Regions from separate parts of the Homo sapiens genome. Here regions 2 and 3 are each linked to region 1. The links are contacts of gene promoters, found by promoter capture Hi-C in human tissues and cell types (Jung and others, 2019). All regions are on one chromosome and are shown on one strand. Each heading gives the region's core, a stretch centred on a gene start or on the middle of the fragment in contact. The rest is flanking DNA. Distances are from core to core; before and after follow the strand shown. Region 1 holds the start of ITIH2 (inter-alpha-trypsin inhibitor heavy chain 2). Region 2 overlaps LOC101928272 (a long non-coding RNA gene). Region 3 overlaps LOC101928272 (a long non-coding RNA gene).

What was found. Contacts are between HindIII fragments. The study calls those that stand out against the background at their distance.
Region 2: a contact is called between a fragment that was not itself captured here and the fragment with the promoter of ITIH2 in region 1, in 2 of the 25 tissues and cell types used here (dorsolateral prefrontal cortex and lymphoblastoid cells).
Region 3: a contact is called between a fragment that was not itself captured here and the fragment with the promoter of ITIH2 in region 1, in 2 of the 25 tissues and cell types used here (lymphoblastoid cells and mesenchymal stem cells).

Annotation. Positions count from the first base shown.
Region 1 is chr10:7,701,371-7,705,231 of GRCh38, forward strand. ITIH2 (inter-alpha-trypsin inhibitor heavy chain 2) reads left to right here and starts at 1,946. Exons shown (of 21, transcript NM_002216.3): 1 at 1,946-2,148; 2 at 3,738-3,812. The coding sequence starts at 2,065. The HindIII fragment of the contact is 26,123 bases long and covers 1-3,861 here.
Region 2 is chr10:9,254,934-9,258,794 of GRCh38, forward strand. The region is part of intron 4 of LOC101928272 (a long non-coding RNA gene); the gene reads right to left. Among named protein-coding and RNA genes, the nearest start is that of LINC00709, 19 kb to the right of the region's middle. The HindIII fragment of the contact is 8,100 bases long and covers 1-3,861 here.
Region 3 is chr10:9,201,448-9,205,308 of GRCh38, forward strand. The region is part of intron 4 of LOC101928272 (a long non-coding RNA gene); the gene reads right to left. Among named protein-coding and RNA genes, the nearest start is that of LINC00709, 72 kb to the right of the region's middle. The HindIII fragment of the contact is 6,922 bases long and covers 1-3,861 here.

The DNA.
Region 1 (3,861 bases), core at 696-3,195:
GTGGTGCACGCCCGTAATTCCAGCTACTTGGGAGGTTCAGGCAGGGGAATCGCGTGAACCTGGGAGGTGGAGGTTGCAGTAAGCCAAGATCATGCCATTGCGCTTGAGTCTGAGCCACAGAGTGACGCTCCCTCTCAAAAAAAAAAAAAAAAAAGGACTTTGGGATCTGAAGACAGAGTATCAGCATGGAAAAAAGTCCAGCCTGCTTTTGGTTTGGTTTATTCTGAGATAATTCTGAATATCAGATTAAAATAATCAGAAAGGAAATGATCAATGGAAGGAGGTATGATTTTGAAAGTCACTGCTGTTTTTGGGAGAACATGCCATTGGGTTTTTTATTATTTATTTATTTTTTTCTTTTGAGACCAAGTCTTGCCCTGTTGCCCAGGTGGAATGCAGTGGCGTGATCTCAGCTCACTCTAACCTCCGCCTCCCCAGTTCAAGCAATTCTCATGCCTCAGCCTCCCAAGTAGCTGGGATTACAGGCGCATGCCACCACACCTGGCTAATTTTTGTATTTTTAGTAGAGACGGGGTTGCACTATGTTGGCCAGGCTGGTCTCAAACTCCTGACCTCAGGTCATCCACCCGCCTCAGTCTCCCAAAGTGCTGGGATTACAAGTGTGAGCCACCGCGCCCAGCTGCCATTGGGTCTTAATTCTCCAGAAACAGTATCTCAGTCAAGAATGCAAAGCTGTGGCAGGATTTTTCCATGAGGGGTCCACTGAGGCACTCACTGGCCAAGGTGGGCGCTCAACTAGTCCAACCTAGGCAAGGGAGGGGAGAATCTGTTTTCTCCCTTCCATTATTTCAGAAGTTATGTTTCTCCAGCAGACACACGGCTGTGCAATTTCGAAGACTGAGGGGAAACTAGGGAGGAAAATGCAGAAAACTCTCTGTTGCATGCCCTGTGAATTGGGCTTTAAATGTAGCAAGGAGCTCCAGGATCCCAGAAGTTGGCCTGGGGTGCTTGGTCCTGAGGATAAGACAACCTCCCTTGTATTGTAATTCTGCCCACAGCTGGAGCTTCCTATTTCAGTGTTGCATCCAAGAAGTTACATTTCCTGTTTGTTGCAAGAAAAATAGAATCTGACCAGGATGGAGGCTAGGCATGGGGGCTCACATCTGGAATCCCAGCAGTTTCGGAGGCTGAGGCAAGCAGATAGCTTGAGCCCAGGTGTTCAAGACCAGGATGAGCAACATGATGAAATCCCATCTCTACAAAAAATAGCCAGGCAGTGTAGTGCACACCTGTAGTCCAGCTACTCTGGAGGCTGAGGTGGGCAGATTGCTTGAGCCGGGGGAAGTTGAGGCTGCAATGAGCTTTGATCTCACCACTGCACTCCAATTCTGAGACTGGGGAGTATTGATTTGCCACTGACCTGAGCCCGGCTGATAGGGGCAGCAGGACAGACACTGTTACCTTAATCAAAGACATTCACGAAGCATTCTCACTGAAGATCTGCCCTAGTATCCTGCACAGCCACTTGCCTGGGTCTTTATAGGTAACAGGTAGACAGTCATCAAAGAGATAGGGGAAAACATGCACAATGAATTCTTTGCTCAGAAAAACCCTTCTGTGTCTTCTCCCACTTTTTCTAAATTTTTCCTGCTTTCATTTAGATCAAAGGATTTTGTTTCTTGGAATAGTTCTGCACTTGGTCCTTTAGAAAGGATGACAATTATCTGTAGGTCTCTCTGATTTTAAGATCAATAGAAATCAGCAAAAGCCAAAAAATAAAAAATAAAAATAAAATAAAAGCACACAAGCACATTCAAGCACATCCATCTGCCCCTGACTTGTCCTCACAGTAAGCAACTGCTTCTGACTTTGCTGTTTGAATAACCTCTGGGTGTTCGATCCACCCACACAGCTCAAGTTTGAGCTCCAGAACAAATATTTGTCCCAATTTTGAACAAAGTTAGAGAGTTTTTTCTTCTTTTTTCTTCTTTCTTAAAGCGAACTGTACTCCTCTGCTGTTCCTTTGAACTTGGTTCAGTAGGAAGAAGTGATATCCTCCCCAGACCATCTGCTTTGGGGAGCTTGGCAAAACTGTCCAGCAAAATGAAAAGACTCACGTGCTTTTTCATCTGCTTCTTTCTTTCTGAAGTATCAGGCTTCGAAATCCCCATAAATGGACTTTCTGAAGTAAGTACTTACAGATCACTCCTTGCTGTTGGCTTGTTCATGAGCTCAGTAAATCATCTATTGGAATCGCTATTCAATGGCCTTATTCTGTGTGTAATGGAAACTTAAGATAAAATTCATCTGAGTGCAAGTGTTTACTGTTATAATTACTGGAATGTATATTTACCTTTTAAAGCATTAACAGGTTTTGCATGAAAATTAAGTCAAGATCAATGGGCAGGCATCAGAGCGTAGCATTTATGGAGCAGAGCTGCTCACTCCTCACCTAAAAAATTGGGGGTAAGAATAGACCTAACCCAATGGTTTGCTTTGAGAATTAAATGACACAGTGTAAACTCTTCTAGCAGAGCGCCTGGACTAGTAAGTGCTTAATAATTACTAGCTGTTATGATGATGAAGAAATATTATCACTCTTTTACTAAGAGTATAAGAAAAGTCATTATCAAAGCACACTGTTTTTCATATCTAAGTGAACAGTGATATTTGTAATAAGAGCACTTTAAGTATTCCTATTAAAGCGGAAGATAGCAGGCAGGGTGGAAAAGTACAAGAATAATTCCCATGGAGTACAGGTCTCCACTTTTGTCCCTTAGCCATCTCCAATGTAAGGAAAGTCTTGGACTGAAAGTCTGTTTCTGAAAGTCATACAAGAGCTATTTTTATGCCAGAAAAGCGAAGCATGTTATGGGAACATCCCAGCAAATGCAAAGGCTTATAATACTTGCAGAGTGGATTACCTATAAAAATGCCAGAGAATATGACGGCATATTTACAAAGGGAAAATATCACTCTGTCTGCTTTGAAACTATCATATTTTCCAACACTTAAAAGCCACCAGAGTGTGTTAGAAATCTCAAATTGAAGCCAAGACATCCAAATGTGTTTGTGCTTTTTCAGTCATTTCTAACTGGCATTTCCTTTTAGAAAATACCTACATTTTTAACTTGGGGAGATGTATGGTTCATGTCTGTCCAGTCAGACACTGCAAATGCCTCCAGGGTCTACCCAGATACTTCCCCAGACACCCACCTAATCACTGGGTTGTTTTGATCTCTGTCTTACCACCTGCTGGCAAACTCAAAAATGAATTCCCATGTCCAACAAATGCGAAGGTGTTGTTACCCTCCATTTGGACACCTCTGAGACGTAACCAGCAAATAGAAATATACTAAAGAAATCATTTTATACAAAATTGTGATTGCCCAGAGGTAGAGGAAAGAATATAAAATAATGAATACCAACAGCTATCTCTTTGGCTCTAGATCTTTTGGAAATCATCATTCTCAGCAAAGTAACACAAGAAGGGAAAACCCAACACCGCATGTTCTCACTCATAAGTGGGAGTCGAACAACGAGAACACATGGACACAGGAAGGGGAACATCACACACTGGGGCCTGTCAGGGGGTGGGGGGCTAGGGGAGGGATAGCATTAGGAGAAATACCTGACGTAAATGATGAGTTAATGGGTGTAGCAAACCAACATGGCACATGTATACCTATGTAACAAATCTGCACGTTGTGCACATGTACCCCAGAACTTACAGTATAATTAAAAAAAAAAAAGTTAAAATCCTAATTTTTTTTAAGTTTGTAGACTATGAAGATCTTGTGGAACTGGCCCCAGGCAAATTTCAATTGGTGGCAGAGAACCGGAGATATCAGGTATAGTAAGGTTTACTCCCAAAAGGGGGAAAAAAAGTGAAAGAGATTA
Region 2 (3,861 bases), core at 845-3,344, 1.6 Mb after region 1:
GGAGGATGCAGCAAAGACATTGGAGTGTTTCTTTTTCTTTTTCTTTCTTTCTTTTTTTTTTTTTTTTTTTTGAGATGTAGTCTTGCTCTGTTCCCCAGGCTGGAGTGCAGTGGCACGATCTCGGCTCACTGCAAACTCTGCTTCCCAGGTCACACCATTCTCCTGCCTCAGCCTCCCGAGTAGCTGGGACTACAGGCGCCCGCCAACACACCCGGCTAATTTCTTGTATTTTTAGTAGGGATGTGGTTTCACCCTGTTAGCCAGGATGGTCTCCATCTCCTGACCTCGTGATCCACCCTCCTTGGCCTCCCAAAGTGCTGGGATTGCAGGTGTGAGTCACTGCACCCAGCTGACATTGGAGCATTTCTTAGCTTTCCCCTGAGTTAATAATGAGTCAGTTGGGGAATATTGTACCAACTCGTGCTATTTCTTTGGGACATTTTCCATTCAGGAGAACTGTAAAGCAACAGAATAAAAATAGCAACTAAAATGATGGCCACAGGTGATTTAGATGGTGATAGAGGGTAATCCGAGTGGCCTAGACCTGAAAAATAGACATAGGTTTTAGGGAGCCTCTGGATTTTTTTTTTCTTTTCTTTTTTTCCTTTTTCGCACAATTGTATTTGTGTATCAGAAAGACTGCTCTGGAAGGAATATGAAGAATTAGCTAAAGGAGGAGAGAGTTTATTGTGTAGGCATGATAAGACACGTGTCTGACCTCAAGCAGCAGAGTGGGCTAGAGAAGAATATTATATTGACAAGTGAGATAGAGTTCATAGGATGTGATAATTGATTGGATATAAGAAGGCACGTGGAAAAATGGAGAATTCATATTGCATGACCTTCTCATTGGGGGAACTAGGTAAATGGTAGCAGCACTCACGCACACAAAAATAAGGAGATAACCCATCTAGCACAAGCATTTCCATCTTAAGGTTTCCTTTCACATTCAGTCATTCATTTAACTGGACCCCAAACATACTCCAATTGTCAATCAACTTGGTATTTGACTGGTTCTATCTGATTAACTGTCTTCATTTGATTAAGTTCTTGTCTCTCCAACATTTCGTCTTACAAAATAATTCTCGATTGTGACCTCTGCATTTCTCAGATATGTGGCTTTGCATCATTTTTTCTCATTTTCTTCACTTTTCCCCTTAATTAATTAAAATTTGATTACTATCTCCTGTTGTTATGTCTGCTTCCCTTGATAAACATTTCCCTCCATGTTGGACATAATGTTGCTAAGAGGGACCAACGCAGAGGAGAACAAGTTTTGTTTTGTATTAGCATGGGCATTTGAGACAATTTCAAACCCACATGGAGGCCCAGCACGGTGGCTCATGCCTGTAATCCCAGCTACTTGGGAGGCTGAGGCAGGAGAATCCCTTGAACCCTGGAGGCTGAGGTTGCAATGAGCCGAGATCACACCACTGAACTCCAGCCTGGGCAACAAGAGCGAAACTCCATCTAAAAAAAGAAAAAAAAATCACATGGAGTTGTGTCCTTCAATTCAATGATCATTAAACTAGCTCCCTCTTACATACAGTGCCCCGGGCTGAAACATGACACAATAATGAACACGACAGAGTCTCCTCTGATAGATCATGGTCTTTTTGAGGCTACAGCTACATAAACTGATCATTTCAATGTAACAGGTCCAGACTATGTAGTATTGGAAAATTGGTGGGGAGGAGAGAAGGCATTCTAGAGACAGCAGAGAGAAGAGATTGGATGACACTTCCAGGGAAGATGTCCCTACTTTGAGAGTTGCAAGATTACGTAGGAATTGGTCAGAGATGTGGCTAAAAGGAACATAAATTTAAGAGAGTTTGATTTAAGGATGAGAGATACTTACAGAGGTGTGGCACAGGAGGAAGCAGAGGAAATTGATGGAGTACGGTTGCAGAGGAGACAGAAGGAAAAGAAACACGAAAACAGATTAACTTGGTAGAGAAGTAAGAACACATTGTACCAAGATGAACAGAGTTCAGAATAAGTGGAGAAGCCAAAGCATGTATGTGGGGGGGGAGGCAGATTTTAGGAGAGTTTCCTTAATTATAGTTTTTATATTCTCTTTGAGATTGTTCATCCTCAATAATGGGGAGGGGTTTGGAGCATTTCTAACACAAGGGAAGATCGCTGGCTAAGAGGAAGAGGGGTAGATGGTTAGGTCCTTTGAGGAGGAGAGGTCTGGGTTGTCATCAGTGATAGGGAAAATGGCAGTTATCGAGGCAGGACATAAAACAAAACTGTTGAGCTCTAGCATGACCTTCCCCCAAACGCCATGCCTCATTGATTAGCGGTGGCACAAATTGGAAGGCTGAGTGATTTCCTTGAAAAAGGGTCAGCTGTTTAAAGGTGGGAATAGAAATCACAGATAGTTTGATTTACCCATAGTTAGAGGATTGCATAAAATATAAAAAGATAAGGAGAAAAGGAATCAAGCACTTAAAAATAAAGCGGGAATCGAGATATTGGAGCTATATACTAGGGACTTGATCATAAGAGCAAGGAAAAGTCCATTTTCTACTGTTTTTGCACAGAAACAAAATAGGTCTAGGAGGGTTAATTCATTGATTACTCCTCTAAGAAGCTAAATAATAACAACTAAAGTATCCTCTGGATGTTACAGGATAGCTCTTAGAAACTGTCAGAATTAAATATACAGGCAGAAATTGTCTCTTCAGTAATGTTTTAACTCTGAGGAAGCTGGAACCAGGGTAAGTCCTCTGACTTAGAGTTCAGAGAATTAATTACATCAGAAAACAAGCAAATAAAACAGAGATATGATAATAGAAATGCTTGTTATTTTGACTATTATTAAAGGTATTTGACTATTATTAATGTTATTTGTGAGCATCTCTTATCATTGCAATTAATTTCTGAAGGCAGATTTTTGCCTGATTCATTTTGGAAATGTAAATTGTACAAAAATGGCTCACAAAATAAATGTCTTATAAAAATGTTCAACAAACTATTCTTCAAATAAATAATTAATGACTCATTCATTTATTAAAGTAATAGGAGCCACGAAATATGTTCAATGAAATATTCCTGAATGTTGTTGATTATCCATCAAGACATTCTTGAACAAATACAGGCATAAATGAATGAAGAAATATTTGGCATATGCATCATTTATAAGCTATTCAGTTCTTCTAGAATTAGAACTACTTGTTATTTGTTTGCTTTCTTTTAAAACCAGATAATAAATTATATGTGTATTTTCCAAGTTTGATTATCATGACACTTTTGGATAAAAAATTATAATAAACATATTTTTACACGGAACACACATATATCAGGCAATTACTAAACTGGACATTGCCATTTCCCAAAGAAACAACAGTGCTATGCTTCTCTGAATACAGGTGTACTTAATAGGAACAGACTAGAGACCTTACTGATTTATAAAGAATAATTAACTTTGACATCTAAGCATTGGTTAGATTATGAAAGTTAATCTCTATTTTTTATGATTTAGAATGTAGTTATGTATGGTGGGTGGTACAGGTAGCTCCTCGCAAATAATATTCCAGGCTAGTTAGATAAATTTAGAGAATCAAAGGATGTAGATTAAAATGTGTATATTGACACAATTATCCTCACAGGATACTGCTGAGGGGAGAGGCACTTCTCCAGGAAGCCCTCTGGAAAGTTAATGGATCCAATCTTCTGGATTCTAATTCATTAGGTAAAAATATTTAGGACAAGGAGAGTAAAACGAAGGACTGAGTGCTTAGCATGAACTCTTTGCATTTTCTTTAATAGTATTGTACTCAGAACTTCAGGAAAAGCCTGCTTTCCCAGGATTGCATGGTTTAAACAGCTAATCACAATCCTTTTTAAAGTGTTATT
Region 3 (3,861 bases), core at 609-3,108, 1.5 Mb after region 1:
CAAAAATGCAGGATGGCTGGGCATGGTGCCTCACACCTGTAATCCAGCACTTTGGGAGGGTGAGGCAGACCAATCACGAGGTCAGAAGTTCGAGACCAACCTGGCAACATGGTGAAACCCCCGTCTCTACTAAAAATACAAAAATTAGCTGGGCGTGGTGGCAGGTGCCTGTAATACTACTCGGGAGGCTGAGGCAGGAGAATCGTTTGAACCTGGGAGGCAGATGTTGCAGTGAGCTGAGATCGCACTATTGCACTCCAGCCTGGGCAACAGGGCAAGACTCCGTCTCAAAAAAAAAAAAAAAAAAATGCTGGACAACAGCAGCAGGGTAATTTCTGCCTAATTTTTGTGGAATTGAGCTGTTTAAATGTTTACTTGATGATGGAATGTGTCTCAAAAAGCTACATATCAGCAGCGGGGCCAGGGTTGGGGCTGGGGTGCAGCCCAAATGTTTGTGAGATTCTGAGAACACCAAGACAGACAGTAATATCTGTCCAAGGGAATAATGCCCTTTGCAAACATTAACAGTGTGAGATTTTTACGTTTTTCAATGATTTTTTAAACATCAAAGTTGAGCGAATGACTGCAGTTTTTCATGTAAGAAAAAACTATTTATCATAAATATGTAAAATAAGTATAAATGAGAAAATAAAAGAAAAAGAAGAGTGTTGAACTATAAACACTGCCAGCACAAACATAAAAGAATGCGAGACAGAAGATATCACAGTGGAAAAATTAAAATTGGCTTCGGCTGTAGCGAGCAACATAATTGACATTGTAGAAAATGAAATCACTAATAAAGTAGACAGTTCTCTAAAAACACCAAGAAAATATATAATAACAATAATAAGAGATGCTATAGAGGAGAGAAAACAAAAAGTCAAAATATATAAATCATTAGCTTCCACTGGGAATAAATCAAAGCAATTGAAGCTAATCATTATTTAGAGGAGAATACTTTGCATAGTTAAAAACAAACAAGAAAACATAACGGCAACAAAAGACATTACTTGAATATACGGGTCAAAAGTGTTCACTAAGTGCCACGCAAAATTAAAAACAAAGTAACTTAGAATAAAACTGGCAAAATTGTTGAATTTCAAGTTTTAAAGAAAAAAATTGACAACCACATGGGCAAAACGTAAAAAATTTACACTGTTTCCAATTCTACTTAACTCAGAGTGCCAGAATATGATGTCATAATGAGATAAAGTTTTGAGAGAAAAATATGTCATCTAAGGATATTTTAACCGAGTACAACCTAATTTATGTGCTGGTATAACACTGACCTCCCTGCTCAGATATGCAGAATTTAGAACATAAACTGCCCATGGATACTTGCTTTGAAACTTTTACTTAGAAGATGTCCATCAGCAGGCTAAGAGATGGATAGTATTTTAAAATTAATGAATGAGATATGTGAATCTGAAATTACTGTGGTACTTCCTGTTATAGTTTTAAAATATATTTGTTTAACATGCTAAGAGCTACCTTGAAAGGTCATTGGGACTTTTTAGAGTAAAAAAAAAAATTAAAAATAAAAAAAGACCAAAAAGCAGGGATGTTCACAATGAAAGAAATAAGTTGTTTGTCTATATACTAATAGCATACGGATATCATAATATAAGTAACAATATAATTCTAATGTCTAGTAGATATAAAATTTGCTATATGATCATGAATATCTTACAAACATTACATAAACAGATGTAATATTGCTAAATAATTTTGGATTAATTGGCCTTTTGGAAAATAATTCTTAAATTGGATCCTTATCTTACACTTTAACTTAATGTAAATTTAAGGTAACATAAGGAATAAAATTTACCAAATAAAAATTTTTGTAGAAAATATGAAAAAATAAGTGGTGATGTTTCTAATCCTGGAGCAGTAAGAGAACTTTTAAGCATAAACATAGCAAAATTCACAAAGTACAAAATTAAATTTTGAAGTGTTTCTCGGAAAATCCTATGAAATTTTCTCTTACCATAATCAATAAGTAGATATGCAGAAGAGTTTTCATTAATAAGACAAATTATAAGCCATAAATATTTTAACCAATGACCATGTATCATCTCTGCTTAAACATGTTGTTACAACTGTTTATCAATAGCATTATTTTTTAAAAGATGCTAACAAATATTAAATAATATATAGCTTCCACTTATTATAAACTCCATATATCCCAGCACTGTATTTAAAATCTTACTTAAGTAATCCAGTTTGGCATTTGCAACAAATCTCTGGGGTGAGAGTTATCCATCTTTTTACAGATGAATAAACTAAAGCTGAGGAATAAGTTGCATGACAAACTAACTTGTAGGAGTTGAAGCAGGAATTGAACTCAGGCCTGAGGACAGACTCTGAGTGCTTAAGTCACTACATGCTTCTTTCTCAGTGTTAATCATATGTAATGTAAGGAAAGGATTACATCTGTTTTGTTCTTAGCTATATCCCCTTAGCTTAGCAGAAGGCACAGCTTACAGTAAGCACTCACTGAACAATTGTTGAATGCATGAATATATTTAAAGAAGATATTATACTAGAAACTGAGAGATGGGAGGCTAAAATCAAAATTATTACTTCAAGGAAGTTTTCAGTAGGGGGTTTCTGGTAAGATATGGAAATGTGGAATAGAAATAACTATAATACAAAGCAGCTTTTTTCAAGTGCAATACAGTATTCACAAATGCAGTGTTACCATTTCAAAGGAAGAGAGTCCATTACCAAAACAAGGTAAGAGGATTCCTCATACTAACTCTGTTATCATGATTTAGCTTTGAAAATAGGCAATATGGTGTTCTTGGGTGCTTTTTCATACACCCAAGATCAAGTATTCTTAGTCACCTAGGACATGATAGCATTATTAAAATTTCTACTTATGGAAAAGATTAATTAATCTAGAACAATCTATCTTAATAGTAAAATCAACGTGTTAGGAGAGATGTGCGTGGGGATACATTCACTAAAAATTAAGTAGTTTTGAAGATGTGATGGCTGCCCTATATGATGTCAATACAGGAGAAACATTGGTATAATCTTAAGCTTGTTATCCTGTACAGTAAGATAAATTCTAATACTGCAGTACTTAACTATGACAATAAATTAGATTCTTGTAGATATAAAGTTAGGAAGTGGTTATACAGGACGCTTTAATAGTGTGTGTTAAGGCAAATAATAAGAAAGAATGATTGGAGGAAAATACCACACAAATAGTGCACAAGCAACTTACTCCGTGCTTTTCTTACATTGAACTTTTTATTAAACTAGATTTCTTTGCCGCTCCATGAGGCTTACTGTGTTTCTTTGCTCCTCTTCCATATTAGGTAATATCCCCGTTACACTGAAAACAAAAATATTGCTTATATGTTTAAAATATAGAATCTAAAATTTGTTCATCTAGCAAGGCGCAGTGACTCACGCCTGTAATCCCAGCACTTTGAGAGGCTGAGACGGGTGGATCACGTGAGGTAGAGTTCAAGACCAGCCTGACTAACATGGAGAAACTCCATCTCTACTAAAAATATAAAAATTACCGGGTGTGGTGGCGGGTGACTGTAATCCCAGCTATAGGGAGGCTGAGGCAGGAGAATCACTTGAACCCCAGAGGTGGAGGTTGCAGTGAGCCGAGATCACACCACTGCACTCCAGCCTGGGCAACAGAGCAAGACTCCATCTTAAAATAAATAAATAAATAAATAAACAAACAAACAAACAAATAAATAAATAAATAAAATTCTTCATCTAAAGTTATTAAATTGGGTGATTTCTATTTAGAAAGAGTCTATACATTTGTCTGCAAGTTATTAGGTATCTGGAATTCCTGTTTTGGGGTTTTTTGTTTGTTTGTTTGTTTTTTGA